Linked DNA regions of Homo sapiens: all the other regions are linked to region 5. The links are contacts of gene promoters, found by promoter capture Hi-C in blood cells and fetal thymus (Javierre and others, 2016). All regions are on one chromosome and are shown on one strand. Each heading gives the region's core, a stretch centred on a gene start or on the middle of the fragment in contact. The rest is flanking DNA. Distances are from core to core; before and after follow the strand shown. Region 1 overlaps TADA1 (transcriptional adaptor 1). Region 2 holds the start of LOC124904449 (a long non-coding RNA gene). Region 3 holds the start of ILDR2 (immunoglobulin like domain containing receptor 2). Region 4 has its middle 9.7 kb from the start of TADA1. Region 5 holds the start of CD247 (CD247 molecule). Region 6 has its middle 27 kb from the start of TADA1.

Region 1 (4,365 bases), core at 1,009-3,508, 660 kb after region 5:
AATTATTGTCCTTTTCATGTTTAAGAATGAAGCATAAAACTGCCTGGAGACTTTGCTTTAGAGTAAGCTGACAGGAAGCCTACTGTTAAACTGGGGGTCTCCCAAATTCCCATATACAGAGAGCTTTGCTGTAGGGTACCAACATCCATACCAGCTACCTTAGTAAATCCCAGAAATTGTGTTCGGTTTAACTAGAGAAGAGTCCTTATTCCCTCCCCACCTTCCTTCTAACCCCCTGACTTAGCTATTATAAATACCCTGCTCTGTGTCATTCTGTGCATGGGAATGAGCCTTCCTGGGCCTGTGACCTGCATTGCACAGAAGGGCCCTGCACTTGGTTTGTACCATCATTATCTTGAAATTCTTAATTTTTAAACACGAGGCCCAGCACTTTGATTTTGTACTGAACCCAGTTTTGGGGGTGAGTGAATGGGTTTGTGTGGATGATTTAAGGATATAGACATTCCATTAATTTTGTTTTTAGCCTTACAGATCCCTCCTGGTTTCCACTCACTCACATTCTCCCAATCCAGGTTGTGGGTTTCTTCCAGGCAGGTTGACGTGCTTCTGCCTCACTTGCCACCTTCCTTGCCTAGCCTAGGTTACAGCTTCTATGGGTCTGCTTCACGAGTCTGCACCCTTTTAGTCCATCCTAGAAATTTGTTGACATCTCATCGTGTCTGCCACTCATTTTCCTTTTTAACCTCTGTTGTGCAAGTGTGCCATTTACCTTCCTTACTTTCATATTTTGTAGCGTCTTGGGAGAGGAGATAAATACATGTGCTCAGTTCATCATCTTAGACCAGCAAATTCTGTCCTACATCTATAATAATACTACTGCTAATAAACAAAACACCCAATAAACATTAATTGAAAATATAAAAAAATTTGTCTTCCTAAAAAAATTTTAGTTGCAGCTAGGAAAAAAATGTGATTTGAGAGGATCGATAATTTTATTTAGAGAAGTAGAAAGAGAAGGTTTTGATTTAAGCATTCATTAGTTATTTGCATTTCATGAGCATTCCATGCTTTTTACCCCAAATGAAAACAAACTTAGCAGTTATCAGTTGTCATTATTTTTACTTATGGTTATATATTTCTGTCTCCTAGATGGTGCTGGATCTTTGCCTTGGCCAGGGGGTTCCGCAGCAAAACCTGGAAAACCCAAGGGAAAGAAAAAGCTTTCTTCTGTTCGTCAGAAATTTGATGTAGGTTGTTCTTTAATAGGTCTTGATAATGACTGATTGAAGTAGTGGCATGTTGGGACTAGCTTTAGTTTTTAAATGAATATTAAAATACTGGTAGTAGAGTTGAAAAAAAGGAGTATGATTTGGGAAGAAAAGCGTTTCAAGGATTGTGAGTTCTAGGTGTCTGAATTTTTATAGTTCTTGTTTGTTACTGCTTAAATAGTAATGTTATCATTAGTACCTAATGATTTTTCAGTTATTCAAAACAATGCTTTTGTCTCTCCTGTTAAGTATTTTTCTTGAATGAATAATGTTTCTTGGATGAAGACATCTGTCTCAAGGGCTCAGGCAGCCTGGAGGCCTTTAATGGGGTCCTGGTGATGTCCAGCTGGGCCCTGAGCCTTTTGAGGACTAGTAGAGATGTCATGAAGGCATTTGGCTATAAAATTTGTAAGCATTTTAAAACAAATTGCTTTTTTCAGTGTATATTTAGGGAAAAAAACTTCCCCGAAGTAACCCTTTTATAGGTTTATGGGGTATTGATAGCTTTATTGATTAACATCAATAAACAATTATTTATTTTCACCTTGACTATATGCTTTATATCAGTAAGAATGTAGAGGCCATTGGGATCTCTAGAGAGACATGTCTGATTTAAAAAGAGATGTTCAATATAAAGTAGTTTTATACTTGGAAAATGGAAAAATAACCATGTTGTTTTCATAATATCAATTTCAAACAGGGACAAACCATCTTCACTACAAAATCTTTTATATTAGCCTTAAGCAAAAGGTACTGGGGCATAACTCCAGGTGGTGATGGAGAACATGAATGGGCTATCAGAATCTCCCTGAGGAAGGCTGAGATTTTATGAATGAAAAAGACTGAGAAAAATAGTCATGACTGTATCTTAGGTTCTGTGTTGAGAATTCTAAGTAGAAAATAACAGCAATTAAGTAGTTACTCTACATAGCATTATCTTGGAATATTTGTTACTAGATCTGCCATATTGGTTAGCTAGGCTTTTTAAGATTTAATTGAATCATTCATTATATGTTTATACTTTTAGAACCTACTTACGGTTAGATTTAAAATGCTCTGATTTGTTTGAATATAGTTCAATACTTCTCCTTCTCTTTCAGTTATTTTTAACACAGTGCCATACATTCTGTGATCACCAAGGTATTAATTGAATAGAATAAACTACTACGCAAACTACCATTATTCCCCTTAATCCATGTCTTCATTATTACCTTGTATTGGATGTGAATCTGTGATTATTTGTGCATGAATTAACTCTTTTTTCCCTTAACCCCTGTGGTATAGTTTTGGTGGCATTAATTTGGAGGATCTCAACTTCAGTACAGGAGTTTACTTTGTGTCTTGTTTGCTACTGTAATGAGTAATTTTAAAAAGTTTTTCTTACTCATAGCATAGATTCCAGCCTCAAAATCCTCTCTCAGGAGCCCAGCAATTTGTGGCAAAGGATCCCCAAGATGATGACGACTTGAAACTTTGTTCCCACACAATGATGCTTCCCACTCGAGGCCAGCTTGAAGGGAGAATGATAGTGACTGCTTATGAGCATGGGCTGGACAATGTCACCGAGGAGGCTGTTTCAGCTGTTGTCTATGCTGTGGAGGTTGGTTTGCTGTTGGCAGAAATAATCTTACAGGTTGAATGTGATAGGCTTGTGTGTTGTTTAAAGTCGGTATTGCAAGAAAAGAATCCAAATGTCACTCTGATTTCACAGAATTGTCATTGTTGAAGTTGTTTTCTGTTTTTTTTGAGACAGCATCACTTTGTCTCCCAGGCTGGAGTGCAGTGGCACGATCATGGCTCACTGCAACCTGGAAATCCTGGGCTCAAGCGATCCTCCTGCCTCAGCCTCTCAAGAGCTGGGAGTATAGACGTGCGCCACCATACTCAGCTAATTTAAAAAAAAAAAATTTTTTAGGGATGGGGGTCTCTCTCTCTTGCCTAACTGGTCTCGAATTCATGGGCTCAAGTGATCTTCCCGCCTTGGCCTCCCAAGGTGCTGGGATTTACATGTGTGAGCCATAGCACCTGGCTAAAAGTTGTTTTCTTTTAAGAGGAGAAACTCATTATAATCCAAATAGTTGTCTTCAGTTAATAGACTAAGCTTTTCAGAAAGGTTATTTATGGCATAACTCTTCTGGTTGATCTGATGTTTTGTCAACAGGGGAATGGTTTTTAAGGAAAGAAATGAAATTGAGAATCCTATAGATTAAAGTCACTTGTTTTTGCTGTGATACAGCACTGAAGAGTATTAGTCTTGGCATCTGAACAGCAGAATTCTTGTCTCTGCTCATGATTTCATTTGTCCATTCATTTTATTCATTTAGTTACTTGACAAAACTAATTTGATGGGGTCTATAATGCACGAGTATGGTCAGGTGACATTGGATTTTCAATTCTCTGAGCCCTATTTTCTTCATCTGTACTTCAAAAATAATAACAGTTGTCCCATGAAGTTATAAACATTAAATGAATTCTGCGTGCAAACCAATTTAAATAGTACAATAATGTCTTGATATAAGTGGATTTTCCTTGGTATAATTGAAACACCCTGCCTGATGCTGGCTCCCCTATTAATAATGGTAGCCTGGGACGAGTTCTGTCACTCTATTTTCACAGGCTTCCTCAACCTTTTCTTATATACTTGGCTCTCATGAAAGTGAAGAGAAATCAAGTACCTAATTTATTTTGTGCTTATTTCCTATATATCTGTTGTTTATGTGGCTTTTGAGAGAGCCAAGGTTCTTTTCACGCAAGGATTTTGGTTCCAATAATATCAGATCTTAAAACTTTTTGTCCTATTTTAAACAAAGTTTCAGCATAGTTTGTCTCTTTTTAAAAAGTCATTTTTGCTCATGCCTGTAATCCCAGCACTTTGGGAGGCTGAGATGGGCGGGTCACCTGAGGTCAGAAGTTCGAGACCAGCCTGGCCAACATGGTGAAACCTTGCCTCTACTAAAAATAAAAAATTAGCCAGGCTTGGTGGTGGGCACCTGTAATCCCAACTACTTGGGAGGCTGAGGCAGGAGAATTGCTTGAACCTTGGAGACAGAGGTTGCAGTGAGCTGAGATCGTGCTATTGCACTCCAGCCTGGGCAATAGAGCAAGAATCCATCTAAAAAAAAAAGTCATTTTTGTG
Region 2 (4,520 bases), core at 243-2,742, 590 kb after region 5:
ATGGAGATCCAGAACCATAAGGATTCTTTTCCTTCAAGAATCTTTGAGAAGATTAGACATTTATACAGATAACTTGAAACAAACTAGAATATATTAAGGGCCATAATAAAATTCAAACTGAATGATTTGTAAGTTAGAGAGAGAGACAGAACTTTTCAAGCTATGAGAATCAAAGAAAGCCCTTTGGCTGAGGCAGCATTTGAGCAGCTCCTGATAATGATAGAGAACTCAAAGTGCTCCACTGATTTGGTCTTAGTTGTCCTCTCATCTTTAAGAGATTATTTAAAGGTTGGCAAGTATTCATTGCATTTTATAGACATGAAAACTGAGTCCTACATAGGTCACCATTTCTTTGAGGTCCCTCAATAAATAGCACTGCATGCCTACACAATGCCCAGTTCCCCACTTCCCAGGCTGGAGTCTCATCCATCAGACATAACTGCCTCCAGAACAGACATAGCAGTTCTGTGGGATAATTGCATTTTAATTGAACTGTCTGTACGACTCAGTAAATGCCTTTGTAGAGATGGAAGAATGTTTAGCTTGATAAATAAAATTATTTCTGCTAATCATTGCTTCCACACAAGGATTATGGATCTAACCTCTGGGAGAAAGTGCCACTAAAAAGTGTGTGCTGAGATTCATTAATTTTTTTTCTAAGTAATTCCACAATTTGAGATGAATGTGGACTGCCCAGTATATTCTCATATAGAAAATCGGTGCACCTGCAAATGGGTGTGTGGGTGACTTCTGTTTTTAGTGCTTGGACTACAATTAGAGTGCTATGGAATTTTATATTTTAATCTTCCATGTAAATAGCTTGCGTGGGAGGGTTTTGTCCGCAGCCAGGGTAACATGGCCAGACACTATACAGCAGGGTTTTCTCTGAATTTACATGCAGTCATATGGTTTCTTTATGGTGTTTGCCCCACTTTGGGAACAGGGAATGCTGGAGTTAGGTCACTAGCTTACATCCCATTGAAAAGTCCTTAATAGCTGGAATATAGGACCATGCTGTGCAGACCATACAACCCATGGCATAGCTAAAGCAGTTCTTACTCTGGGCTTTCCTTCCTTGTTTTTCTCACCTGTCTCTTCTCACTACCTCTCTTCTTAGACTCTAGAGAGGCAAGATGCCCAAATATGGTTAAGCTTCCATCAGACTACATGGTTCCAGCCCTGGCACTGCTAAATTTTTCCTGGGCAAGTTATGAAACCCCTCTGACCCAAAATTTTCTCAAACATAAAATGTGGCTGATAACAGTACTGTTTTAGGTGGTTCTGAGGAACAAATGTCCATGTAAAGCATTTAGCACAGTACCTAGCACATTTTCAGTGCCCAGTAAGTACTGACTAATTACCATTATTTTTCAGTACCCATCCCATCATTCCCTTCTCTCTTTCGTTTTTTCCTCTTTCTCTTATCTGTAAATTAGGCCCACTGGTATCTATCACTCTTGGGGCTGGTATTGGGCTAGACTGATACTTAAGTGATATGGGGCTTAAACAGCCTTTGTCTCTGACAATATGAGTGATAGAGATGTAGGAGATGTTCTCTCTCCTGCTTTAGTTTTGTTTTTTATTAAGCCCTGAAAATAACAGCTGCTTGTAACCACATCGCAGCAGGTCAAATTAATCATGTCTAAAACACAGTATTCCTTCTCCTAAAAGGAAAATGCTAAAGAAATGAAATGGAACCATAATTAAAAATCCACATAGTTTGAATTTTGTTTTGTACTACTATGTATATGGTCTAGAAATTAATATTAGCTCTTATACACAACTCAGTTTAAGGAACTTTTGCATTATCTCCTAGGCAACTCAAAGCTTTCAGGCCAACTTTGTCAAGGCCCTTGATGTTTGAGTATCTGTAAGTTACCTGTGCTCTCACAAAGTGAAGGTGGGATCCTCAGATGCTAGAGTGACGCATGTCCTCAATCTAGAAAGTGGTCTTTTTTTAGTGTGAATATGCTCCTCCAATGGAACGCAAAAGCGCTGAGAAGATGAGCACTAAGTGGAGCTGTAAGAGGTCAAAAGATAGGAAGCAGAAGTTAACAAATGACTAAAAATAGACTGTAATGGAATTTTGTTGTTGACCTTTAGGTCCTCCATTCCAGTGGCGCCATCTGATAAAGGGGATCACAGATATGGTCCCATATGTATAAATATAGATCGTTATTTCTGGGTGATTTCAAAAAGAGTTGTTATAATTGGAAACCCTATTTTCTACTTGGTAAAATAAATGGAGGCCTCCTTCTCCTGATATTTTCCTTTTTCAGCTCACCTTCTTGTGCTTTTCTCAACAGTTCGCAAAGGTTACCGGATCCAGGCTGACAAAGAGAGAGACTCCATGAAGGTCCTGTACTATGTTGAGAAGGAGCTGGCTCAGTTTGATCCAGCCAGAAGGATGAGAGGCAGATGTGAGCATCTGTTAGTTTTCTGTGATCTGTGCATTATGCAGGAGTTAGTGTGTAAAGGGGATTTGGGGGTCACCAAACTTGGGCAGCCCTGAGCTTGCAGGCTTAGAATTAGCAGGGGTGCTGGTGACACTACTGAAGAAAGTAGCTCTCAGTACACAGAGGGGAAAAAAAGGTCTTCTGGTGTGAAGAGTAGAGCAATTCGGTAGCATCTTGGTTTATGTTGGTTTTCTCCATGGGGCAGTCAGTATTTCTGGGGCTGTGTTATCCATGCCCCATGGATAGAACCAACATTCTTTGAATATATTTTATTCAAACTTTCTTTGAATAAAGAACCAACTTTCTTTGAATATATTTTAAAAGGAGTAGAAGGGAAAGACTATTTTAATAAAGCATTCCAAATAGTCTTTCCCTTCTACTCCCTTTAAAATATATTCAAAGTAATGTCTTAAGATGTGGAAGCTTAAGTATCAGTTTTTTCCAACGTGAAGGGTGCTAGCCTTGGATAATACAACCACCAACTCGCTGCATGGAGGCCTCCTGAAAGTGAAAGAACAAGTCTGGCACGTGAATCTGGAAAAAAGGTTGTTGCTCCTCGAAGATGCCAAACAACAGAGATTAAGGGGCAAGCAAAGAGGCTGATCCTCTTGTCAAAAGAACTTTTTGAATACTAAGTCTGAGGTGGCCGGGCCCCAACCCTTAACTCACCCCCAGCCCTTGGATACTCTGCAGCTGACACAGCTGATTCTTGGGGTGGATTCCAACTTATGTATCATGGGAGGTAACATAGGGCAGGTCCCACATGGACAGGCTCATTATCAGAGGGTGCTGGCGGGTGTGGAAGTGAGGTCATTATGCTGTCTCTTTACCCTCCTCTTCTTGGAACTAACGAGAGACTTGACGGAATTGTTGGGGAAACAGTCCCAGACTAGAAGAGCTTTATTCAGATTAAGGACAACATATTCCACCCAGTTTGCAATTCTAAATTCATCCTGTCTGCGTTGTATCCATTGCTGTATCCTCCCACCACACCGACTATAAAAAGACCATTTCCAGATTGGAATGTCAGGAATGCAGATGTCACTGCACTTGACAAGCTAGTTGTAACAATGTTGTCATGGATCCCTGTAAGGGGCCAGAGACAGAGTGAGTCAGGGACCACAGAGGAGTCTGTGCAGGAAATTTGCGAATCTCACAGCTCAGAGAAAAAGTTAACAGCTAAGGTTAAAACTAAAGGAAGAATTCTGGTTTAGGTGATGTCTCCTGTCTCTCTACTTCATTAAAATGGTCTCTAGGGGCTTAATGGTCATAAGGTAATGGACTCTTAGAGTCAAAGGGGGTCTTAGAGATGGCCTAGGTTAACCTTTGTAGTGTGCAGGTGAGGAAACAGAAGCCTAGGGATGCGGTGACACAATTAGGACCAGATTCCAGCTCTTCTGATTCCCAGTCCTGTGGTCTTTCCAGAAGAAACTCTTGGGCAAACTGTGGATGGCTCCATGGCTGTAATGTGGATGGCTCCATGGCTCCATTCTGTTCAGAGACCACAGCCTTCTAGCTAGTAGGACTTTAGAATGTCAGAGCTGGAAGGGACTCTGAGGTTGTTGAATCCGTCCCCTTCACTAAGGTAGAAAGGGAAAGTAACAAGCACCAGTACTCAGTGCCAGTGCCAGAACTGGAACCCTGATCTCCTGGAACCTGCAAGTTAATATTATAACAACTGCATAGAGATAAAGTAGGAATACTGTTTACTTTGAGAAGTCCTGTTCCTGAAGAACATAGTAAACCATGGGCTGGATCATGGAACTGGGCAATCTTGAAATCTCATTATAAAATGGATCTCATGGTTTCAGGTTGGGGCAGGAGAGTAACAGATTCTGTAAGAATTGAGTTTGAGGTCCAGGCTCATGAATTTGCTAGCCAGTATGGTCCTCATTTGCTTTGCCCTTCTAAATGGTGGGGGTTGTTTAGGGGATGTTTTTAGTCTGGGAAGTTCTAGTATAGGGCTCAGCAAACTATATCTCCTGGGCCAAATATATTTCACTTCCTTTTTTTTTGAGACAAGGTCTTGCTCTGTCACCCAGGCTGGAGTGCAGTGGCGCAAAC
Region 3 (4,280 bases), core at 1,258-3,757, 540 kb after region 5:
ACACATCCAGGCTTCCTTCACTCAGTCCATCTCCCATTTTTCACATGTATAAACTTGCTCATATGTCCAAGTTTTGCATAAAATGCCATTTTTTTTGAGACAGGGTCTCACTCTGTCACCCAGGCTGGAGTCCAGTAGCGTGGTCACAGCTCACTGCAGCCTCAACCTCCCAGGTTCAAGTGGTCCTCCCATCTTAGCCTCCAGAGTAGCTGGGACTACAGGTATGTACAACCACGCCTGGCAATTTTTGTATTTTTTGTAGAGATGGGGTTTCACCATGTTACTCAGGCTGGTCAAATTCCTGAGCTCAAGCAATCCGCCCACCTCAGCTTCCCGAAGTGCTGAGATTACAGGTGTGAGCCACTGCACCTGGCCAAAATGCCACTGTTATGTGTGCTTAGATAATAAACACTATTCAAGCTCTTTTGTGCACTGTGACACACACACATAGATGCAGTAAATGGCACAGCATAATACAAATATATCATCTCAATCTTCTGGTGTAGATGTTCTTTTTGTGGTGCAAACAGTATATGCTTTAGAGTCAGATTCAAATCCTAGCTCTGCCACTTACTAGTTGCCTGATCTTAGAGAAGTTAGTTAAATGCTCTGGGCCTAAGTTCCCTCTTTAGGGTTAAATGAGAAGGTTTGTTAAACATGTAGAACTCTGCCTAGAACCTAAAGGAAACCCACAAGTGTTAGGTACCTCCTATATTTTTATTTTTCTGTATATGAAAGGAAATAGTCCTCAAATTTCTCTCATGCAGTACATAGCATGAAAAAATCATCCTGGCCAAAATAAGCAAAGAAAGAGTTTATGAAAGGATATTGGGTGGCTCAAAGAATTGCTGGGGAAGTGAAGAGCCAAGTGTAGAAGAGAGGCTAGAACCCAGAGAGCCTGCAAGACCACAGCCAAAAATCACACCTTGGAGCATCCTGGTGGCTTGACCTCTGCCACAGCTGATCATGTACACTGGATGCTGCTGCTGCCTCAGTGACAAAATCAATTCTCCACTGTCCTTGTTTCTTATATCCACCACTTGCTCCAGAATCAAAAAGCTCTGAGGGAGAGGTCAGCCTGGCTATGCCAGGGGCCCGGGCCTGCATTCCAGCTGGGATGGTCAGGGAGGTGGCTCTAGACTTTCTGGCTTCTGCAGTTGGAATTTCTCAGAATAAGAAGGGAATTGAGATGTCAGGCAGCCATAAAAGACAGCTGCCCAGGGTCTATTCTTCCCATTTCTCACATGTTCACATACATATTCTCCCTGTCTGTGTACACATTCACTCTTAGGTGTGGAGTCTGTCTGCTCCAGGAACTCCCCTCCAGCCTGGCACCACTCTGTTTTCAGATGCTACTTGAGACCTTTCTGCTATGTCTCTTTCCTCTGCCCAGAATGCCCTCGCCTGCCCCCTTTCCACCAGGGATCCTTGAATGGCTCAAATCTTGTGCTTTCTGCAAATGCCAGCTCAGATGTTACCCCTCCTTTATCGTGGTGCCCCCTCCCCACCCACGACTAACTTAGTCCTTCCTCTATGTTCCCAAGGCACTTTCTCTATGTCTCCATTATTGCACTTGCCCCGTTTTACTAGGAATAAGTATCATGTCTTTAATGGTCTGACCTTCCTCCCTTTCCTCGACCCAAGATGAGGCTCCTAAGGGCAGGAAGTCTATCTCATTCCACTTTGTAACCTTAGTTCTTAGCACCTAGTAGAGGCTTCATAAATATATTTCTTAAGCAAATCATACATTTCTCAGTTCTCTCTCAACACATACATTTTGAGACACAAGACAAATCCGTCTGACAAATAGGAATAATCCATGTGAATGCGTGCTGGAATCTATAAAGTGTTGGATGGATTTAAGCCGTTATAATCATTTATCTCATTCTGGTTTTACATATTTTCTGTTAAAGGGCCGGATGCCCTTATTCTACCTCATATTTTAACAGGAAAAAGTAATGACGCGAGATTCCCGCCTACCTTTTTCAATTCTGCGGAGCCTCTTGCCTGGTTCCTTGCACTGTCAAAAAGGAAACCAGACGGAGGGGCGGGGGTACCGCAGAAGCGAACATTCTAGCCTAGAGGACTTGCTAGTTAAGTCCTGTAAGAAGTTACGCCAAGTCCCCGCCGTCCCCCACCCTCGCCGCTGTCACTCTCTCCCCGTTCAGGTTGGCTGTGGCTGCCCGCAGACACAGGCTCCCCTGCTCGAGTCCCCAGCCAGCGTTCTCGCCCGGGTTCCCGAGCGCGGGCGTCCCTGGGAGAAGCCGCGATGGTCGCTCCCCGCTCGGCGCGGCCCGCGGGGCGGCCTCCCCCGCGCCTCTCGCTGCCTGCCACCCAGAGACCCCCTCTCTCCGCGTGGCCTCAATCACTCCACGCTGACCTTTGGGCCGCCGGGGGCCAGCACGTGACCGAGAAACTTTGGCAGTCGCGGCAGCGGGCGGCGGGGCGGAGGCGCGGGAGGCGGTGCGGCGGCCGAGCTCCCCCGCGCGGCGGGCTCTGCGGCGGGGAGACGCTCGCCCCGTGCCGCGCTGCCTGGGCATGCGGATGCGCCGCCGAGCGCTGCGCGGACCCCGGAAGCCCGCGGCAGCGCGCGCTCAGCCGGCGGCGCGATCCAGCCCCCGGCCCCGCCTGCGCGGCCGGCCCGGCGGGCGCTGCGCCCAGGGACGCCCGGTGCCCGCCGCTCCGCCGCCGCCCGCTGCCGCGGGGTGACAGCGATCCTTCTGTTCCAGCCATTTCCCACTTTCCTCACTCCGTAATTCGGCTGGGAAGTTGGGGAAGATGGATAGGGTCTTGCTGAGGTGGATTTCTCTCTTCTGGCTAACAGGTAAGAGTCCTTTTCAACAGAAACGAATAACTTTGTATATTCCTGTAGTGGTTCTGTTCTCACCGCGCCCCCCGCCCCCCCATTTTCCTCCTTACTGACCATGTTTAAAGCTGCTTAGCGGTCTGGTGGAAAGTGGGGGAGGGGGCAACGTGTGTGTTTGTGTATGTGTTTGTGTGTGTGTGTGTGAGAGAGAGAGAGAGAGAATGATGGGGGCGGCGGGGGAGAAGCCCAATGACAAGTGAGACGCATCTAGATGCAGGTGTTTGACTCATTGGCGCTGAGGTTGTTCTTTCGAATGCATTTCCCCTCCATAAAACGGTTCTCCTTCGGTCTTATCCTGAGTTTGTAATGCTGTGAGTCTTGTGAAAAGCCTGGCTGGAATAAAGGAAGCTCAGAGGGAGCTGATTAATTAAATGAACTGGTTTTCTGGAGGTGGAGGCTAGAGGACTGTCTCCTTAATTTCTTCCCTAGAGAAGGAGGGGGACCCAGGGCATTCTCTCTGTGGCTCTCTGGAGGGTGCAAGGAACTGGAGGTTGGGAAGAAGATGGGGATGGAACCTTCACTGGTTGTGGAGTTTAGAGCCTGGCTCTCTCTTACTTGGTATCATTTGGGGAGTGGTCCCAAATGATAATTAGAAAGCAGAAGAGCCTTTCTAATAGGTGCACTCTCCGCTCCCTAAAAGATAATTTGCAGAGAGATTTAGAGGCATTGGGCTTCTCCCCAGCATCAAAGTCACTGGTCTAGCTGGGTCCTCTGTGCCCTCCCCTCCTTTTTGGTGAACTTTCTCCCCATTCTGCTGGGGTCAGTAGATGCTCTTGTTCTTAACCTATTTCCCCACATGAGGATTCCGATTCCCATAGGGATACAGGGCCTTGGGGTGGCCAGCCCTGAGAGATTCACAAAGCAGCCCTGCTGAAGGGAGTAGGATGGGGGTGAGGAATGTCTGGATAGCTTGGACTGGGTCAGAGGCAACCATTCAAATCAAGGTGGAGGCAGAATGATGGAAGAAATGGAAAAAGGGATCAGAAAGGTGAGGACAGGATGGGGGTGGAAGGCAGGAGAGAAAAGGGACAATAGTACCACATGAGAAGTTTTGTCACCTCTAGCATCACCAGCCAGAAGATCTGGACAAAATCAAGGCACTAGGCAAAGGGGAACAAGCTTAAAATAGCTAAAACAAGTCATGTAAAGGGGGTAAAATACATTTAGCAAGAAAAGGCAAATACCCCATTTCCCTTAGCTTCAGAATAAGATTCTTCATTGCCTAAATATTTTTCCCATTTCAAATGAAATGCCCCTAACATTGCCGTTGCCCCACTGCTGGGTTTAGGCTGGGGGAGGCATCCTCAGCAGAGTTAGCCTCTTCTTTTGGCTGCTTTGAGTTCATCCCTCCCACATTATTCAGATATGAATCATCTCTAATTTCAGGGTTTGGCTGATCCATGCCACCCCGCTC
Region 4 (4,342 bases), core at 966-3,465, 630 kb after region 5:
GCCACTGCCTGGCTCTGGTCACTGCTCACGCCACTGCCAACCCTGTCCTGCAGTGTCCAGCCACCATGTAGGCTTAAACAAAGTGACTGCTTCTCTTTTATCTGTTCACCTTTAGGCTCTTCCCTAATTCCCTACGCACAACTGAAAGTAGATTGTCACATATTAGGTGTGAATTTTCTTTTTCTTTTCTTTTCTTTTTTTTTTTTTTTTTTTTTTTGAGGTGGAGTCTCACTCTGTCGCCCAGGCCAGGCTGGAGTGCAGTGGCGTGATCTCTGCTCACTGCAACCTCTGCCTCCCTGGTTCAAGCGATCCACCTGACTCAGCCTCCTGAGTAGCTGGGATTGCAGGCATGCGCCACCATGCCTGGCTAATTTTTTTTTTTTTTTTTTTTTAATAGAGACGGGGTTTCACCATGTTGGTCAGGCTGGTCTCGAACTCTTGACCTTGTGATCCACCTGCCTCGGCCTCCCAAAGTGGTGGGATTACAGGTGTGAGCCACGGCACCTAGCCAGGTGTGAATTTTCTTAAAGCGTCGGGATAGCCAAAGGGAAACTCATAGCTGGTTACCAGAGGAGACTGCTTTGGGGAACAAGGCCCAGGCTCAACCACCTCCATGTGAGTGAGGCCAGTTTATCTCCATCCTGGAATGCCCTCAACAAGAATCTATAACTTTTTATAAAATGATTCTGTAAAATTGGTTTCTGATTTGAGCCATAGCAAACATCTTGGAATTTGCCTCCTTTAATTCAGTGTACTTAATGTTTAGGCTCTCCAGGAATGTTTGGGGTTCCCAGCCCACAGGGGTCCTCTGCCCTGGCTGATGTGGTAGGTGTCCTGCATCTATCAGCCTGTCACATAGGTGCCCTATTGCTTATTAAATAAGGTTTAGGGGGAAAACTATGAGGAATGGTTGCGCATTAGAATCTCTGGAGGGCTTTGAAAAATAGTGATACCTGGATTCCATTCCCCAGACATTCTAGTTTAATCGTTCTGGGGAACGGCCAGAGCATGGAATTTCTAAAAATTCTCCCAAGTGATTCTAACACCGAAGTTGAGAACCATTGCTCTTATGAAAGCTATTGTAGGGTGAATTAAGTAGAAATAATCTGTTCAAGCAAGCAAATTCCAGTAATCTCCTTTGGTTATATCTGGCTCCAGAAATGATGGGCAGACACTGCATGTTTTCTGTAGTCCCCCTTGGGCTCTCCATAGCAACCAGATGGAATGGATTCCATTGCCCTGGCCTGGTTGGTTCCACAGTATCCCCTACCTAACATGGAAATTGTTGGAATAGACTAGACATTAATTTGTGTGGACATGTTAAGTGTTTCATAAATGTCTCCTAACATCATTATTATCTGTTGAGAAGCTGGCTCTGCTTGGCATTAGAACATACACAGACAGTTCCTTCTTTCCATTGTCCTCTTTTCTGCATATAGTGGAAAAGGTTGAGGCTCCTATTATTGGCATTCTGCAAAAACCTGCCATGCAGGCCTAAAGCAATACAAGTACTTTGAGGTTTGAGGCTACCCAGGAGTCCGTTATATCTAGCAGTGACCGCCATTACTATTTTGTATTGGGTAGTCATCCCTCAGGTTGAAATCACTGCCATGGAAGCAGCCAAATTTCATGACCCTGGTTTACACCAGCTGTCACCCTCTTCACAGGCAAATGGAACATCACAGGCTTCCAACAGATTCTAATAATGCAGAAGTAGCAAAGGGCACACTTCTGGAATTTTTTGTTTGAAGTTGCAAGCCCCGCAAATCCTACTAGGAAACAGAGCAAAGCCAGCTGGGTTAGGATCTACCATAAAGGTACAGTTCCACAAAGTCCATTTTAAATAACATATGGAAATTGCAGTAGTCCTAGTTTCATGTGGGTGAGACCTGCCTCATCTTCTTGAACTGGGGTCAACCATTCAGATACTATTTTCTAGGTTTGTACTCTACAAAACAATTGGTAACTTGGGGAAAGCAATAAACTCAGGTGTCATATATTTGTAATTAAAAAAGACAGGACTGGGTACAGTGGCTTACACCTGTAATCCCAGCGCTTTAGGAGGCTGAGATTGGCCAACTGCTTGAGCCTAGCAGTTCAAGACTACCCTGGGCAACACAGAAAGTCCCCTCATCTCTACAAAAGAAAAAAAAAGAACTGGGCATGGTGGTACACACCTGTAGTCCCAGCGGCTTGGGAGGCTGAGGTGAGAGGATCACTTGAGCCCAGGAGATCGAGGGCTGCAGTGAGCCATGATTGTGCCATTGTACTCCAGGCTGGGCAACAGAGCAAGATCCTGTCTCCAAAAAAAAAATCCATCTCTATAAAAAATAAAATTAACCAGGTGACAGATCAAGAGGAGAAGGAGGAGGAGGGGAAGGAGGGAGAGGAAGAAAAAGAAAACAAAAAAGATTATTCTGCCTAAATCTCTTACCTATCTGATGTGCATCTAGTGAGGACAGTGCAGCCTGTAGAGGGGGAGTCTCTCAAAATGTGGGTGCAGGGCATGCGTGAGCTCCATCCCCACAGTGTGCAGAAATCATGGAGCTGCAGGGAGGTGTAGTAGAATGTGGATGGTTGAAAGGATGGCATCAGCTACATTGGTTGGAGGGCATCAGGGAGTTTTCAGACCATTCCAGCTTGTCTCAGATGAAATCTTTAGGAAGAAATGGACAGGGGCACTCACACTAGAGTAAGCAGTAGAACATGGTAGCTAGAGTATGAGTTCTGGAATGGGGCTTACTGGGCTTATGTCCAGTTCTACTAGATGTGTAACTGTGGGCAATTTTCTTAACTCTCTATGATTTAGTTTATCTCCCTGTAAAATGGGAGTAACAATAGTAGTACCTACCTTGTGGGGGGTTGTGGCAAGGATTTTAAATCATCGCCAAAAAACATATTCAGTACAATGCTTGGCAGATATTAAGTGCTCACTGGAGTTAACATATTTTTGTGGTTATTGTGGCAAAATGGACTCTGGTGTCAGTGAGATCTAGGTTCCAGTCTTAACTCTGCCACTTCCTGTGTAACCTAGAGCAACTGAACTTTCCTGAGTCTCAGTTCCCTCACTTATGGCCTGGGGATAGCAGCAATTCAAACCTCACTGGATTATGGTTTGGGCTAAAGGAGGTAATGTAGTAGACCCACTTCGTAGCAGGGAGTTCGTACATATCAGCTGTTGTTATTTCCTAGAGCCTGATGAGAAAGAGCTCACAATGGGTTGCACTCTACTCTCTTCCTCACTCAGGACCCAAGGTGGGTGGTAGGGTGGGGGAGAGGGTAAACTCTACAGGTGGCCTCTGTATGCCCTGCCTTTACACTCAACTGCTGTCAGGCCCCTTTGGTCCGCAGCTCCCAGGTTGTCCCCAAATGTGACAATTCGTCAATTTCTTCCTGTAGGTAACAACCCTGCCTGTAATATGTCAATGATTTTGAGTCTATCCCTGCCGTTATTGGAGGGTCTGAAAGTGGCACCTTTGGACAACCAAGATATTTTATGAGTCCAAGGGGTAGGACTTCCCAGGGTCCGCAGAAGAAATGCTCAAGCGTCAGGTGGCCACCAGAGACCTGCTGCCGGTGGCCAAGGGTATCATCCCGGGCCAAGGCTCCAGGTTGGGACGCGGAGACCCACGACCCTCCTTGGGATCCCGGGCATCCTGGAGGAAAGGTGAGGGCGCATCACCCCCTGGCGGCAGCCGGGCAGACTCCAACCGGCCGAGGTGATGCTGCGCTCAGGGCCGTCTCTTCTTCCTCTAGCGAAGGCAAGCGGTGCTGCTGCAGAGACATTTCGCTCGCGCCGGGGCCAGCTCTGCATTCTCGCTTCGTTTCTCGGACAACAGCCGCTTTAGTGCTAAGAGCAGCACCGTGCCGCCCGCCCATCCCGACCCCAAAGCCAACTAATCCTCCCACACCCGCTTTCTGCAGGCGGCGGGGTTTTCCAGCTGAGAGGCCGTGAGCGCCTAGAGTTGGGTGACCACAGGGAGAGTCCTTCCTGAGGGACAAGGGCCACCCGCGCCGCCCGCGCCGCCAGAGCCGGTGAGTTCCTGAACCTGAGAGAACCTAGGACGCACCTGGGCAGGTGCCTGGGTGGCGGCCCTTGAGAGTCAACATAAGTCAACGAGGCCAAGACCGAACCAGCCGGCCTGAAAGTGCGCGATGTCCTTCCTGTCCTGAGTGAGTGGGCATTATCCAATCTGTTGAGGGCTTGACTAGAACAAAAAGAAAGAGGAAAGGCCAATTCTCTCTCTTGAGCTGAGACGTCGTCTCCTTCTGCTCACTGCCCATGGTCTGGGGCTTCCTGCTCCTTAGCCTTAGGAGTGCAGGACTTATAGCCGTGTCTTCA
Region 5 (4,011 bases), core at 809-3,308:
TCAGTATTCATCAAGAAATGGGTATTTGGGATGATCACACCACATGAGCATTTCTATGAAGCGGACATTTTCACTCCAGGCTTCAATGTCCTTGATTCAGTGAGAGAAAAGTCAAAGGCCTGAAGGTTTTCCTTGATCTTTTCAGGATTAAAGCTTTTAGGAATGACAACCACCCCTTGCTGGATGTTGAAACGCAAAATAACTTGAGCTGTGATCTTATTGCACCTTTTTAGAAGTGCATCCTTTAACGAAGGCAGAGAAGACATATTTGTCCAGGTTGGATTCCTAGTGGTCCCCAAAGGGCTATATGCAATCATGACAATGTCATGTTGTTGGCGAAATTTCAAAAGTTTTGGTTGGGTGTAATATGGGTGGCACTCAACCTCGTTGCTGACTGGCTTGGGTTTGAGTCCTGGGTTGTTCTGGATGAGCTCCAGCTGGCCTGCTGTTAAAACTGGATACTCCGAGGGATTTCACCAAGCCAGCATCTTTACAAGCTTCCGAAGTCTCCCAAGTGGCACACAGATTTGACTTGTGATATAACCATTTGCCATTCTCACCTATAGGGTAGATTTTGTCTTCTGGCTTAGCGGCCATGGGTATTTCAGTGATGTAAAGATCCACACAATCTAGCTGGAGGACCTTGAGCATCCTCTCTAGGCTCGGGCAGACCAGCTCTGGGTTGTGATTTGTAGCCCACAGTTTTCCACAGTAGAAGATATCCTTCCTCTGCACCTTTCCTTCTGCTATTTTCCCCCTGATGGCCTCCCCAGCTGTGTCTTCATTTTGGTATATGTAGGCTTCATCAGTGTGTCAGCACCCCAGACCAATGACAACCTTCACTGATGAAGACTCAGACTAAATGTAGAGACAGACTACTTGGGCTGTAGTGACATCTCTACCTACCACCTACTTGCTGTGTGGCCTTGAGTAAGTCATCGGCCCCCTTAGGGGTCAATTTAGGCTCTGAGTAGGTACCAAGTCTGATGATGGGAATGCTGTTTCCATCACTTAGAGGTATGCGGTGATTTGCAGGACTCACTTTCTTCATAGTGTCCTTTGATGCACAAAAACTTTTAATTGTGATGAAGTCCAATTTATCAATTTTATGTTGGATTGCTGTGACTTTGGATTATTGGCTATTCTTGTACATTAATTTTTTTCATATCAATTTTGGAATCAGCTTAACTTGTTCTAAAACTTTTTGTTGGTATTTTCAATGAAATAGATTGATTAATTAAGAGAGAATGGTGGTCTCCTTAAAAGAGAGCTTCCTATCAAAGAAGGGTATGCCTTTCCATTTACCCAAGTCCTTTCGGCGTTCTTCAGCAATGTTTTAAAGTTTGTTTCATATAGATATATTACAATTTTTAGACGAAGTTTATGTCTAGGTTTTAATGTTTTATTATTGTAAATTACTCTGGTGTTTAAATGTTGACAACTAACACAAGTGTTTAAAATACTATGTGAGCTACAGTATTTCACACAATGATCCAAATTCAGGCCAAGTTCAGATCTGCAACCTCAGATCTACTCCAGCTCTTTGCTTTATAGATAAGGAAGCTGAAGTCTAGAGATGTTGAGTGACTGACTCAACGCCACACAGCAAGTAGGTGGTAGGCAGAGATGTCACTAAAGCCCAAGGAATCTGTCTCTACATTTGTCCTGGACTCTAATCCAGGGTTCTGTCATTTTGCCAGCCACCATAAAATATTTGACAGTCTAGGAAAACAGCAAATGTTCTTACATCCATCGAGAACTTGTATTTGCCTAGAGATGGACTTTACCAATCAAGATAGGAATTAGATAAGAATTATTTTTTTTAAAAAAAGGAGCATTAAAACAATGGTCAAATGAGAGAAAAAGCAAAATTCAGACAGACAGATACATACACACACCCCAAACCCTCAAACCTCCAGGGCTTCCTGCCTGTGAACCGAAAGGGGGAGTGCGAATTTCTTGGCCCTGTCGGCAGGTGCTTTCTCAAAGGCCCCACAGTCCTCCACTTCCTGGGGAGGTAGCTGCAGAATAAAACCAGCAGAGACTCCTTTTCTCCTAACCGTCCCGGCCACCGCTGCCTCAGCCTCTGCCTCCCAGCCTCTTTCTGAGGGAAAGGACAAGATGAAGTGGAAGGCGCTTTTCACCGCGGCCATCCTGCAGGCACAGTTGCCGATTACAGGTAGGGCCGACGTGTCGACGGCAGGGAACTTCTAGAAACTCTTTGTGTATGTGTAGGGGAGTGGGTGTGGGTAGTGGAGGGTGGTGAGGGGCTGGGGTCTCCTTCAAATCCTGCCCTCCTCAAATCAATGGGCAAGTGAGCAGTGAGGGGTCCGGCCCGGTGCTGGCATCTGCTCCGTCACAGCCGAGTTGGGCATCAGTTCAGAGCCAGCTGCTAGAATACACAGCTCCTCCAGGTACAGATTTTTCGAGTGATAAGAGAGGAAGGAAGAAGGAAGCAAGAGAGCAACCGAGGCAGGCCCAGGGTAGAGAAACGGAGAGGGAGTGTTTCACAGAAGCTGGACAGGATCGGAAAATGTCAGCCAGGCCATGTTTCGTGCTGCGACGTTCTAGTCCCTTCAGCTTCTTTCACCCTCTGGCTGGCTCCGTCACTCAGCCCCTTTCTTTCTTCCTTTGCCAACAAAGAAGATTTTGTTGGTCAGTCAAGGTCATGGCCTGAAACACTCCAATGGGCCCGGGAGTAAGTGGGGTAACCAAGGAGGAGAGGGGCACAGGCAGGAAGCACCGGGTGGCAGCCTCCACAGCGCCTTCGCCACCTCATGGCCAAGCGTCCGTGTCTAGGCTCAGCCTTGTCATGGCTGTCCCCACACCCACGCCTGGGACTGCCGGGTGACGCACCATCCCAGGCTCCGTGACTCACCCCAGCCTGCCCCTTAGGCGGCCATCTAGCCCAGCCAGAGGGCCCGGCATTGACAGAACACGGGGCAGATGAGACGATGTGCCTGGTTAAGTCACCACCACGAGCAGCGCCCAGCCAACAAGAGTGCTTGCTCCTCACCTCATTCCCGATCGTGGGAGCCCAGCTTTGCTGCAAGCCTTTAGCTTCCACCATGTTTTCTAGCCCAGGTAATGAGGAAGAAAACCAGTGAAAAGAGGACAGGACAAACTGCTCAGGGGGATCAGCCTCGTGGCATCTTCCTGAGAAGTGGGGCAGGCTGAATTTCAATCTAAAGAAACAGGGAAGGTGAAGCAAGCAAATGTCCTCGGCCCACCTGATCGCTCCTGGTAACTCACCTGGGTGTGGGAATTTGTTTAGGGGCCCTGTTGGGAGGGCAGGAGAGGCCATGGGCACTTCTGCTCCCACCAGGGAGCCAGGCACAGCCCGGGCCAGCGCCTCGGGGGATTCTGAGGCCCGTGCAGCTGCAGGGGTTTCTGTCAGGTCACAGCTGTTTTCTCAGAAAAGCCTTGTGGGGTCTAAGTCACACACACAGTGTGGCAGAGTGAGGGTGCCTGAGCTTGCTCAGAGCAGCCCATCCTTGTGTGCTGGGGACAAGGGGACCCAGAACGCTGGAATTTAGTGACTTCAGGGGAGACAGCCAGGGGCAATAGCTCCAGCCTCTGAGCTTCAGGCTTGAGACACCACACCAGGGAGCTCATATAACCTTTCAGGGTCTTTACCTGCAGTTTCCTCACTGGTCCATTTGTGTTCGGCTTGGAGAGACCAAGGTAGGGGCAAAGTGAAGTTAGAAAGAAAAATGAAAGATTGTTGGGTGGCGGTGGCTGCCAAGCGTGGTAAACAGAACCCCACCCAGCAGACAAGATGGGGGCCGTGCCTCATTTCCACAAATAGGGGGCAGGAGGAGAAAACTGCACATTGGCTGGATTTTTTGCTTCTCAGTGCCACTTACTTTGCCTCTATGGAGACTGATATTTTAGCTATTTTAGATAAAGCTAATAGACAAAAGTGTTTCAAAATATCCTAGCCCAGAAACGAGGTACGGTAAGGCAAAGCGCGACTCAGAGAGGCCTTGACACCGAGGGCTGCGATGGTGC
Region 6 (4,152 bases), core at 596-3,095, 610 kb after region 5:
GAGGCAACCAGTCCAAAAGCTGTTTGTATGTGTTTTTATCAGCACATACAATTACTATTCCCAGGCTCTAGAGAACCATAAAAAAGTATAAGCTATGTGTATAAGTTAGAGACATCAGGGTTGGACATCTCAGAGGGGCCTGGAAAACATCCTGTCGAGGTAGAGGGAAGGGTAAACCACTGAACTACTAGAGAAAGCTACTTAATCTCTGGTAGACCCTGGGTCTGCTCCCTCTCCACCATATCTTAGCCTCAGTTTCATTTAGTCTAAAAGGTAACAAATCAGTGTGATAGGCAGAAAATTTAAATGTTATGAGCACTCCTCAAACTCTTTCTCCTTCAGTGCATACCAAATGCTGAACAGCTGGCTCAGCTTCTGCAATTTTGTGGTATTAAATGATTTAATGGGTTCACAAGGAAAGAATCCAGTGGAACCTGGCTTGGCTCAATTGATTTACATGGAGCCAGCTGACCGTGGGAGAGAAGAGGATGAAAGAGATCATGGCCAGAATGGGCTAGCAGAGTTTGGAGAGGAAAAAAAATAGATTTTGAGTATAACCAGTATTTATACGAGATTTTGAGAGAGAGATAAAAAGAAGCTTTTAAAGTTTTTAAACTTTTATTATGAATACAATCCCCTTTGGGATTTTTGAGAGACTTTAGAATGTGCAATATAGGGCCATAGGTTAAACTGGTTATAACAATATTTAAAAGTCTCCTTTCTGAGTAAGACCTTTATCTTGTTACCTAGCACAAAGGGATTTTTTCTTTTGCAGTTTTTTTGAGGAGGTGTCTCCATGCTTGGCATGAAAACCAGGGGAGGAAAATACAAGATGCCCTACTGTGTACAGTGAAGTGGGGTTTTGGAAGATGTGCTCCAGAGAACGGCGTCTGGGCCCCCACAATCTCCCCATGTTGCACAGACTCTCTCTGACTCCTGTGATCTGGCCCTGGCTGTCCTGGAATACTACCCTCTACTCCAACAGAATTTTTAATTGTTCCACAGTGTATTTATGTACATTGTTATCTGAGCCTCTGAGTAAAGCAAAACAGGCATGATTTTCTCTGTTTTACAGATCCAATAGTCAAGACCACAAAGAGGGGAATGACTTCTCAAGGTGACTTAGAAAATAGCAACAAACAGCAGTGGAATTGGAGCTAGCATCCAGATCTCCTGAATCCTTGTTCATTATTCCCCATGACACTCAGTTCTTGCTTTGTAAACAACTATGGAGATTGTAGAAGCTCATATGAAAAGGGGGTGCAATGAACAAGAAGTGTAGATTAAAGAAGTGTGGAACCTTGAGTGTCAATTGATACAGTGCAAGCCATGTGGCTGCCTGCCTACTAACATGCAGTGGTAAGAAGGGCCTGCAGATCCACTGGCAGGGGGCAGGTTCAGAGTCACACCCAAGAGAGATCTATAGATGAGGGCAATGGGCCAGATCTAACAAGATGAAATGAGAAGGGATAAATGCAAAATCTCACATTTTGATCTGAGAGATAATTGCACAAGGACAAGATGGGGAGATATTGCTTAGGAGAGTCTTATCCTTTTATTCAAGTTATTTTAAAAAGTATTTGTTGGGCACTAATTATGTCTATACAATGGTTTGGCACTGAGCTTACAGCAGTGAATAAGATTAAGACAAATAAGGCCCCCTACCCTTATGGAGTTCAAATTCCAGCGAGGGAGACAGCCAATACACAAATACTCAAATGATTTCATAAAAGGATCAGTGTTGAAAATAACTCAGGATCATGGACATTGACTGTTAAGAGGAGGAAAATATTAGAAGGGTGGTCAGAGAAGGCCTCTCAAAGGATGGGACATTTTCAAACTGTTACTTGAAGGATAAGAAGAAACTGAGATTGAGAGGACCATCGGGCAGAGTTCCAAGGAAAGGGAGAACAAGTGAACAGTGCTTGAGGTAGGCATGATTTCAGAATGTTTGAGGAACAGAAGGGAAGCCATCATGGTTCAAAATTAGTGAACAAGGAAGGACATAGGAGCTGATGTTGAAGAGGCTGCAGGGGCCCCCAACATCACCTAGATCATTTAGGCTGAGAAGGCCATTATAAAGATGCCAGAGTGCTAGGCACCCTCCCCAAATCTCTTCTCTTTTTTGTCCTTAGAAAAAGGTTCTTATCTGGATAGCTAACCAGAGACTAAATTTCCCAGCCTTCCTTATTGTGAGTTGTGGCCATGTGACTAGAGTTATCACCAGAGCAATGTGAACAGAAGAGATACGTGCAACACCCACCTTACTTGACTGAAGGGAAATTACTTGCCTTTAACTTCCTTCCCTTGAGTGACCAACCATGCAAATAAGGACAATGTACTAGCCTTAGGCATGGTGGAGCAACAAGATGGGAGGAACCTGGCTCCCAAATGACCTCATGGAGAACTGGCCTGCCTGGCTGGACTAAGTGAAAGAGAAATACACTTCTCTCTTATTTAAGCCACTGCATTTTGAGGTCTTTATTATAGTGATATAGTCTTTACTGTAATTAAATCAATGAGAAATGTGGACTTTTTTCTAAGTTGGAAACCATTAGAAAGTTTCAAACAGATGAATGATGTGGCCTATGTTTGAAAAAGACCATTCTGACTTCTGTATGGAGAACAGATTACAGGAAGACGAGAGTGGAAGAAGTGAGAACAGTTGGAGGGCGAATGCAGATTTTGTGTGGGGGACAATGGAATAAGACGATGGCAGTGGAGAAGGATATACAGGATAGATTATGAATGTATTTTGGAGGTAGAGAAAATAGGCTTGTTGATTTATTCAATTTTGGAGACAGTGAAGGAAAAGGAAAAAAAAATGATTCCTAGGTCTTTGACTTGAATAACTAATGAAACAGCAGTGGAATTTCTTGAGGTGGACAAAACTGAAGTGCAGGGTAGGATAGGATGCTTTGACTGCAAAACAAACAAAACTCAGAAAACTTGACATAAACTGGCAAAAACAATAAGGACATTTATTAGCCTACAAAATGTAGAATGGGCTACAATAATTGGTTGTTCCAAAAGTTTAAATATGTTGCCAATATCTTTTTAACTCTACTCTTTGCCATTCAAGTTTAAGCTTCATTCTAATGCTGGTTCCTCTTGTGGTCGGTGACTGAGACAATGTGTTTCCTCACTCACCTCCAACAAGGAAGAGAGAAGTCATTTCTCTAATTATATAATACAAGTCTTTGTAGCCTGAACTTTCTGACTTAGCTTGTCATGTTCTGATTGGCTTAGATGAATAAGGAATAGGCTTGGAGTTACTGCCCTCTGATTGGCTTAGATGAATAAGGAATAGGCCTGGAGTTACTGCTCTCTGAGTCATAGCTGTTGCATAGAGGGCAGTATATGACACCCAGGCAAATTCAGGTTCTGTTGGGAAGGACAGGAAGAAGGGTTGATTCAGAGTTTATGTTATGCACTTTAGCTTTTTATTTCTTCTTCCTAATCTGTAAAGTGGGGAGAGAGACATGTGCAGCCTTGGCAGACAGAGGAGGTCCAGGATCTCACAGAAAAAGAGAGACTTTTGCATCTGTCAAAAGAAAGAAACTGGCTGGGCCTGGTGGCTCATGCCTCTAATCCCAGCACTTTGGGAGGCCAAGGCGGGTGTATCACCTGAGGTCGGGAGTTTGAGACCGGCCTGACCAACATGGAGAAACCTCATATCTACTAAAAATGAAAAATTAGCCGGGCATGCTGGCACATGCCTGTAATCCCTGCTACTCGGGAGGCTGAGGCGGGAGAATCGCCTGAACCCGGGAGGCGGAGGTTGCAGTGAGCCGAGATCACGCCACTGCACTCCAGCTAAAATCTCTCTGGCACCAAGGAGGAAGGTCACTCCTAATATCAAAGGGACCCATACGACAAAACTGCTGCATGGATGAGGTAATGTGAATGTCAGTGGCTGTATTTTGTTAACACAGATATCTGTCTGCAACCAATGAGACTAAGCAGCCTTGTGGGGGAACTAGGGAAGAAGGCAGAAAAATAAAACCCTGCTGGCCCTGGTTTTTGTGTTTTAGAAATCCAGTCTTTTGGCCTGTGAGAGAATGATCACAGAAGATTCTAAAACTGTCTCCCTTTTGGAAGTCACGTCTATAACATTTGAGAAATCAGCCCTTGAATATAAAAAAAACAAAT

Evidence for each region. Contacts are between HindIII fragments. The CHiCAGO score rates a contact against its expected background, and 5 or more counts as called.
Region 1: a fragment that was not itself captured here is called in contact with the fragment with the promoter of CD247 in region 5 in 1 of 17 cell types (fetal thymus); the score reaches 5.2 in fetal thymus.
Region 2: a fragment that was not itself captured here is called in contact with the fragment with the promoter of CD247 in region 5 in 1 of 17 cell types (total B cells); the score reaches 5.3 in total B cells.
Region 3: the fragment with the promoter of ILDR2 here is called in contact with the fragment with the promoter of CD247 in region 5 in 10 of 17 cell types (activated CD4 T cells, fetal thymus, total B cells and 7 more); the score reaches 11.3 in activated CD4 T cells.
Region 4: a fragment that was not itself captured here is called in contact with the fragment with the promoter of CD247 in region 5 in 1 of 17 cell types (fetal thymus); the score reaches 5.5 in fetal thymus.
Region 6: a contact is called between a fragment that was not itself captured here and the fragment with the promoter of CD247 in region 5, in 1 of 17 cell types (total B cells). The highest score is 5.9, in total B cells.

What each region holds. Positions count from the first base shown.
Region 1 is chr1:166,860,667-166,865,031 of GRCh38, reverse strand. TADA1 (transcriptional adaptor 1) reads left to right here. Exons shown (of 8, transcript NM_053053.4): 4 at 1,111-1,208; 5 at 2,620-2,829. Among named protein-coding and RNA genes, the nearest start is that of TADA1, 13 kb to the left of the region's middle. The HindIII fragment of the contact is 2,149 bases long and covers 1,184-3,332 here.
Region 2 is chr1:166,924,967-166,929,486 of GRCh38, reverse strand. ILDR2 (immunoglobulin like domain containing receptor 2) reads left to right here. Exons shown (of 10, transcript NM_199351.3): 7 at 2,307-2,420. It overlaps LOC124904449 (a long non-coding RNA gene), which reads right to left and starts at 2,316. Exons shown (of 3, transcript XR_007066714.1): 1 at 1,880-2,316. RefSeq lists an enhancer at 4,123-4,282. The HindIII fragment of the contact is 675 bases long and covers 1,155-1,829 here.
Region 3 is chr1:166,973,767-166,978,046 of GRCh38, reverse strand. ILDR2 (immunoglobulin like domain containing receptor 2) reads left to right here and starts at 2,507. Exons shown (of 10, transcript NM_199351.3): 1 at 2,507-2,824. The coding sequence starts at 2,779. It also overlaps a transcript of MAEL not described here. RefSeq lists silencers at 2,088-2,137, 2,258-2,547, 2,608-2,657. The HindIII fragment of the contact is 7,595 bases long and covers 1-3,987 here.
Region 4 is chr1:166,883,830-166,888,171 of GRCh38, reverse strand. No RefSeq gene overlaps it. Among named protein-coding and RNA genes, the nearest start is that of TADA1, 9.7 kb to the right of the region's middle. RefSeq lists enhancers at 3,457-3,956, 3,957-4,342. The HindIII fragment of the contact is 5,404 bases long and covers 1-4,342 here.
Region 5 is chr1:167,516,576-167,520,586 of GRCh38, reverse strand. CD247 (CD247 molecule) reads left to right here and starts at 2,058. Exons shown (of 8, transcript NM_198053.3): 1 at 2,058-2,179. The coding sequence starts at 2,122. It also overlaps the pseudogene AKR1D1P1. RefSeq lists enhancers at 2,227-3,426, 2,698-3,661. The HindIII fragment of the contact is 3,961 bases long and covers 500-4,011 here.
Region 6 is chr1:166,901,571-166,905,722 of GRCh38, reverse strand. It overlaps a transcript of ILDR2 not described here. Among named protein-coding and RNA genes, the nearest start is that of TADA1, 27 kb to the right of the region's middle. RefSeq lists an enhancer at 3,227-3,727. The HindIII fragment of the contact is 2,490 bases long and covers 601-3,090 here.